Linked DNA regions of Homo sapiens: region 1 is linked to region 2. The links are contacts of gene promoters, found by promoter capture Hi-C in blood cells and fetal thymus (Javierre and others, 2016). All regions are on one chromosome and are shown on one strand. The core of a region is centred on a gene start or on the middle of the fragment in contact, and the rest is flanking DNA. Distances in the headings are between cores, read along the strand shown.

Region 1 (2,817 bases), core at 8-2,507, 70 kb after region 2:
ACCTGGCCTTGTTTTTGTTTGTGTCACCCAGGTTGATCTGCCAGGAATAAAGATGGCCACCCAACTTTTTTTTTTTTCCAGCGACAGAGTCTTGCTTTCTGTGCCCCAGGCTGGACTGCAGTGGTGTGATTATAGTTCAGTGCAGTCCCGACCTCCTGGGCTCAGGCAATCCTCCCACCTCAGCCTCCTGAGTAGCTGGGACTATGGGCATGCACCACCACTCACAGCTTTTTGTTGGAGAGATAGGTTTTATGTTGCCCAGGCTGGTCTTGAAATCCTGGTGTCAAGTGATCCTCCTGCCTCAGTCTTCCAATGAGTGACTATGAGTTATGTGTCTGTAATACGTATCCATGTCCCCTTCCCAGGCTCCCAGGGCACCAGAGTGGAGGTTCCTGTTGTAGAAACTCAGATCCTCTCCTCATGTTGGGCAGAATCAAGGAGCAGCCAGGCCCAGAGCCAGGGCACTGGTCTCCTGCAGGTCAGGTACTGCCTGTGGCTTGATCCAACGGTCCTATCCCACCCAGGAGGAGAGAGGGTCACTTTTCCCTTGGCTGCCCCCATCGCACTAAAGCAGCTGGCACTGAACCAGCCTCCATGCAGTCCCATGCAGTGCCACCCAAGGGTCCCCAGTAGACAATGGTGGGCCAGTTGTCAGGGGCTTCCTCCTGCTGCAGGGCTGAGACCCTGGGAGGTCCCAACCCAGGCAAATTGAACGCCAGGCTAATTTGAAGACCCAACTCCCAGCCCTCCCCTTCACCGGAGGACAGAGCTCTAGCTGGCCTGGGCCCCCACCTGATAGCAGCCTCCAACGTCTGGGGTGTCTGATAATGCTTGGCGGGGAGCTCGTGCCAAGTCCCGCCATCAGCACGGTTGTTGCTGTTTACTGGGGAGGGGGAGGGCTGTGGAGCCTCAATCAGGGGGACAGGGGGTCCCACAGCTTCTTCCCAGAATACCCTTTCTGCCTTTTCCAGGAAAGTTAACTGAGGGAAGACCCCCAAGTCTCTCCTTCTTTGGAGACCCAATGTCTGTTTTTACCCAGCACCTGGACCCTCAAACCCTGAACCCCCCAACCCTTGATATTTGACTTGGCTTTGGACACAGGGTTAGTCTTTAACCCCAGCCCCAGACAGGCCAACGTGAAGTTTGTGCCCCAGAAACAGTGCCCCCCCGCCGCCTTGCCTTGCTTTGCCTTATCAGAGGCTGCAGCCAATCAGCTAAGGACAGAGAGGAGCCCTCGAAGGGGCTATCACAGCCTCAGAGTTCACGAGGCAGCCGAGGAAGAGGAGGCTTGAGGCCCAGGGTGGGCACCAGCCAGCCATGGCCACAGCCGAGACCGCCTTGCCCTCCATCAGCACACTGACCGCCCTGGGCCCCTTCCCGGACACACAGGATGACTTCCTCAAGGTGGGGCCTAGAAGGTGGGGTCTAGGTGGGCTGGCTGGAATCCAGGGCCACAGTCACAGATCTTGGGGTCCAGACCTGCATCTTGACCTGAAATCAAGAGACTTAACCAGGACTGAGGTACGCTCAGTCCAGGAGAGGAGATCTCAGCTTAGTCTGGCAGGGGGTGAGGAGGGTGGTCTAGGGGTTTGAGGTTCTAAGTGTGATCTATTTCGGTAATAGAAAACGAAGGTAGCCTGGGCAACATGGTGAAACCCTATCTCTACAAAAAATACCAAAAACATTAGGCCAGGCATGGGGGCGTGTGCCTGTAGTCCCAGGTACTCCGTAGGCTGATGCAGGAGGATCATTAGAGCCCAGGAGATTAAGGATACAGTGAGCTGCACCACTGCACTCCAGCCTGGGCAAAAGAGTAAGACCCTATCTCAAGAAAAAAAAAAAAAAAAAGGAACGAGATCTAGGCTCACAGACAATCTTCCAGATATCAGCGGGAAATGATGAGTGTGTCTGGGGGACATCCAAAATTTCGGAATTAATCTTGTTTTGGGAGACAGGGAAGGAGAGGGATGTTCTGGGGGAAAACTAAGTCAAGGCTGGCATCCTCTCCCCCGTCCCCTGCCAGTTTTCCATCTCCAGCAGCTCTGCTACCCCTTCCCCCATCCCCGAGTGTGGTTCCAGATAGTGGAAGTCTTATCTCCTGTCTCCAGCCAGACCTGATCGGTTTCTGTCCCTGGAGCTGGGGGGGGAGCGGGGAGAGGGGCGGTTAGAGGGGCAGTGTTGGGGAAGTGGGACAGACAGACAGGCAAACAAGACCCCTTTCCAAAGCCTCTGCGTCAGAGTGTCCAGCCCGCGATGTCCCTGGGCAGGGCACCCCAGTGTCCACCGAACCTCGAGCTGCCTGCTCCCTCCCGCAGTGGTGGCGCTCCGAAGAGGCGCAGGACATGGGCCCGGGTCCTCCTGACCCCACGGAGCCGCCCCTCCACGTGAAGTCTGAGGACCAGCCCGGGGAGGAAGAGGACGATGAGAGGGGCGCGGACGCCACCTGGGACCTGGATCTCCTCCTCACCAACTTCTCGGGCCCGGAGCCCGGTGGCGCGCCCCAGACCTGCGCTCTGGCGCCCAGCGAGGCCTCCGGGGCGCAATATCCGCCGCCGCCCGAGACTCTGGGCGCATATGCTGGCGGCCCGGGGCTGGTGGCTGGGCTTTTGGGTTCGGAGGATCACTCGGGTTGGGTGCGCCCTGCCCTGCGAGCCCGGGCTCCCGACGCCTTCGTGGGCCCAGCCCTGGCTCCAGCCCCGGCCCCCGAGCCCAAGGCGCTGGCGCTGCAACCGGTGTACCCGGGGCCCGGCGCCGGCTCCTCGGGTGGCTACTTCCCGCGGACCGGGCTTTCAGTGCCTGCGGCGTCGGGCGCCCCCT
Region 2 (3,110 bases), core at 174-2,673:
AGTTCGTGTCCTTTGTAGGGACATGGATGAAACTGGAAACCATCATTCTCAGCAAACTATCGCAAGGACAAAAAACCAAACACCGCATGTTCTCACTCATAGGTGGGAAGTGAACAATGAGACCACATGGACACAGGAAAGGGAACATCACACACCGGGGACTGTTGTGGGGTGGGGGGAGGGGGGAGGGATAGCATTAGGAGATATACCTAATGCTAAATGACGAGTTAATGGGTGCAGCACACCAACATGGCACATGTATACATATGTAACAAACCTGCACGTTGTGCACAAGTACCCTAAAACTTAAAGTATAATAATAATAAAATAAAATAAAATAAACTTTTTGAAGGCAAAAAAAAAAAAAAAAGAATAGCATGGGGGAAACCACCCCCGTGATCCAACCACCTCCCTTCCCCGACATGTGGGGATTACAGGTCCCTCCCTGGACACATGGGGATTATAATTCAGGATGAGATTTGGTTGGGGACACAGAGCCAAACCATATCAGTGGCCCTGCCACAGCCTCTTATTTTTGATTTTTCAATGTGTTCATTCAACATGATTTCAGATTATTCATTGGAGGGCTACTGTGTGCACAGAAGACACATGGATGAATAAAACAGTATGGTTTCTGATATGCAAAAAACAAAAATACAATTTTTACCCAAAGAACACTGAACACTTAGAAAAAAATACACAAATATATATTTGTAGCCAGGTGAGCGTATATATATATGTATATGTGTGTGTGTGTGTATGCATGTATGTATTTATTTTTATTTATTAATTTTTTAGACGGAGTTTCGCTCTTGTTACCCAGGCTGGAATGCAATGGCACGATCTCGGCCCACCCCAACCTCCGCCTCCCGGGTTCAAGCGATTCTCCTGCCTCAGCCTCCCGCGGAGCTGGGACTACAGGCATGCGCCACCATGCCCGGCTAATTTTGTATTTTTAGTAGAGACGGGGTTTCTCCTCTCCTCCCGGAAGGCGGAGGTTACAGTGACCCGAGATCACGCCGTTACCCTCCAGCCTGGGCGACAGAGCGAGACTCTGTCTCGAAAAAAAAAAAAAAAAAAGACTGGTCTCGAACTCGCGACCTCAGGTGATCCGCCCGCCTCGGCCTCCCAAAGTGCTGAGATTACAGGCGTGAGCCACCGCGCCCGACAAAAATATGTATTTTTAAGTGTCAGTGTGCAGAAAGGAGAAGAAAAAAAGTGAAAATTAAAAATGACTTTAATCAGTAACTGCTTAACTAAAATTTAAAGTTATACTTGGAAACGTATAAAACCCATACTATCCCCTTCGCCGCCCTCCCCCGAACTGAGGCAGCAGGGACACCCCTCGCCCTGCCCTGGCCCACACCGGGCCTCGCGCTCAGGCACCGGGCATGGACAGCCCGGCGGGCCTGTGAGGACCCCGCACAGCCAAGATGGCGGCGTCCGTGCGACAGGCACGCAGCCTACTAGGTGTGGCGGCGACCCTGGCCCCGGGTTCCCGTGGCTACCGGGCGCGGCCGCCCCCGCGCCGCAGGCCGGGACCCCGGTGGCCAGACCCCGAGGACCTCCTGACCCCGCGGTGGCAGCTGGGACCGCGCTACGCGGCTAAGCAGTTCGCGCGTTACGGCGCCGCCTCCGGGGTGGTCCCCGGTTCGTTATGGCCGTCGCCGGAGCAGCTGCGGGAGCTGGAGGCCGAAGAACGCGAATGGTACCCGAGCCTGGCGACCATGCAGGAGTCGCTGCGGGTGAAGCAGCTGGCCGAAGAGCAGAAGCGTCGGGAGAGGTGCGTGCGTGCAGGCAGACGCGGGGCTGCCCTCTGTGCCCCGTGGGCGAACTGGGCCCCAAACCGTGCCTACCCCTTCGGGGTCACGTCGCAGCATCTGCATGTTGTAGATTTATGTATACGCTCACCTGGCCGCAAAACAAACTCAGAATAACGTCCATTTAGTCATTCATCAGCAAGTTTTGTTTGTTTGTTTGTTTGTTTTTTGGAGACAAGAGTCTCGCTCTGTTGCCCAGGCTGGAGTGCAGTCGCAAGATCTTGGCTCACTGCAACCTCCGCCTCCCCGGTTCAAGCGATTCTCCCGCCTTAGCCTCCGGTGTAGCTGGGATTACAGGCGTGCACCACCACGCCCGGCAAATTTTTGTAGTTTTAGTAGAGACGGGGTTCCACCATGTTGGCCAGGCTGGTCTCAAACTCCTTACTTCAAGTGATCCACCTGCCTCAGCCTCCCAAAGTGCCGGGATTACAGGTGTGAGCCATCACGTCCGGCCATCACCACCAAGTCTTTACTGAGCGCATACCGTGTGCAAGACCCTGTCCCAGGCCGGGGGCGGTGGCTCGTGCCTGTAATCCCAGTTATTTGGGAGGCCGAGGCAGGCCCCAAAAGGGCCCTTAATATCAGATGGCGACAGCTGACAGGCAAGATAATACCAATGGTGACAGCCGACTAGTAGGAAGGTAAAAGAGTGAAGAGTGTGTGCCTGAGGGCAGCTTTGGTTTGGGAAGCCTCAGGCCTCTCTGAGGAGGTGATGTTTAAGCAAAGACCTGAATAACCAGACTTAGCTATGGGGCGATCTCTTGGGTAGAAAGTTTCTGGTAAAGGGAACAGCTGGGGCAAATGCCCTGAGATACGATATGCCTTAAAGAACAGCCAGGAAGCCAGTGTGGCTGGGGAAAAGGTGAGGGCAGGAAGGTGATGGGTCCTGGAACCAAGAGGGCAGAGGTCAGATACAGAGGCAGGTCTGAAGGACCAGGGGCATCTTTTTGTTGTTGTTGTTGTTGTTGTTTTGAGGCAGAGTTTTGCTCTTGTTGCCCAGGCTGGAGTGCAATCTCAGCTCACTGCAACCTCTGCCTCCCAGGATCAAGAGATTCTCCTGCTTCAGCCTCCCGAGTAGCTGGGATTACAAGCGCCCACCACCACACCCGGCTCATTTTTTGTATTTTTAGTAGAGATGGGGTTTCGCCATATTGGCCAGGCTGGTCTCAAACTCCTGACCTCAGGTGATCCATCTGCCTCGGCCTCCCAAAGTGCTAGGATTACAGGCGTGAGCCACCGCGTCGGGCCAGACCAGGGGCATCTCTTATAGATAATGCCACATCCTGGAGC

Evidence for each region. The method cuts DNA at HindIII sites, captures the fragments that hold promoters and counts their contacts. A CHiCAGO score of 5 or more calls a contact.
Region 1: the fragment with the promoter of KLF1 here is called in contact with the fragment with the promoter of GADD45GIP1 in region 2 in 1 of 17 cell types (erythroblasts); the score reaches 5.9 in erythroblasts.

The regions. Positions count from the first base shown.
Region 1 is chr19:12,885,641-12,888,457 of GRCh38, reverse strand. KLF1 (KLF transcription factor 1) reads left to right here and starts at 1,257. Exons shown (of 3, transcript NM_006563.5): 1 at 1,257-1,404; 2 at 2,316-2,817. The coding sequence starts at 1,318. RefSeq lists enhancers at 615-953, 1,062-1,402, 1,966-2,227, a promoter at 305-1,323, a cis regulatory region at 527-2,367 and a silencer at 2,575-2,817. The HindIII fragment of the contact is 12,769 bases long and covers 1-2,817 here.
Region 2 is chr19:12,955,536-12,958,645 of GRCh38, reverse strand. GADD45GIP1 (GADD45G interacting protein 1) reads left to right here and starts at 1,423. Exons shown (of 2, transcript NM_052850.4): 1 at 1,423-1,783. The coding sequence starts at 1,434. RefSeq lists a silencer at 1,477-1,646 and enhancers at 1,075-1,947, 2,047-2,096. The HindIII fragment of the contact is 49,128 bases long and covers 1-3,110 here.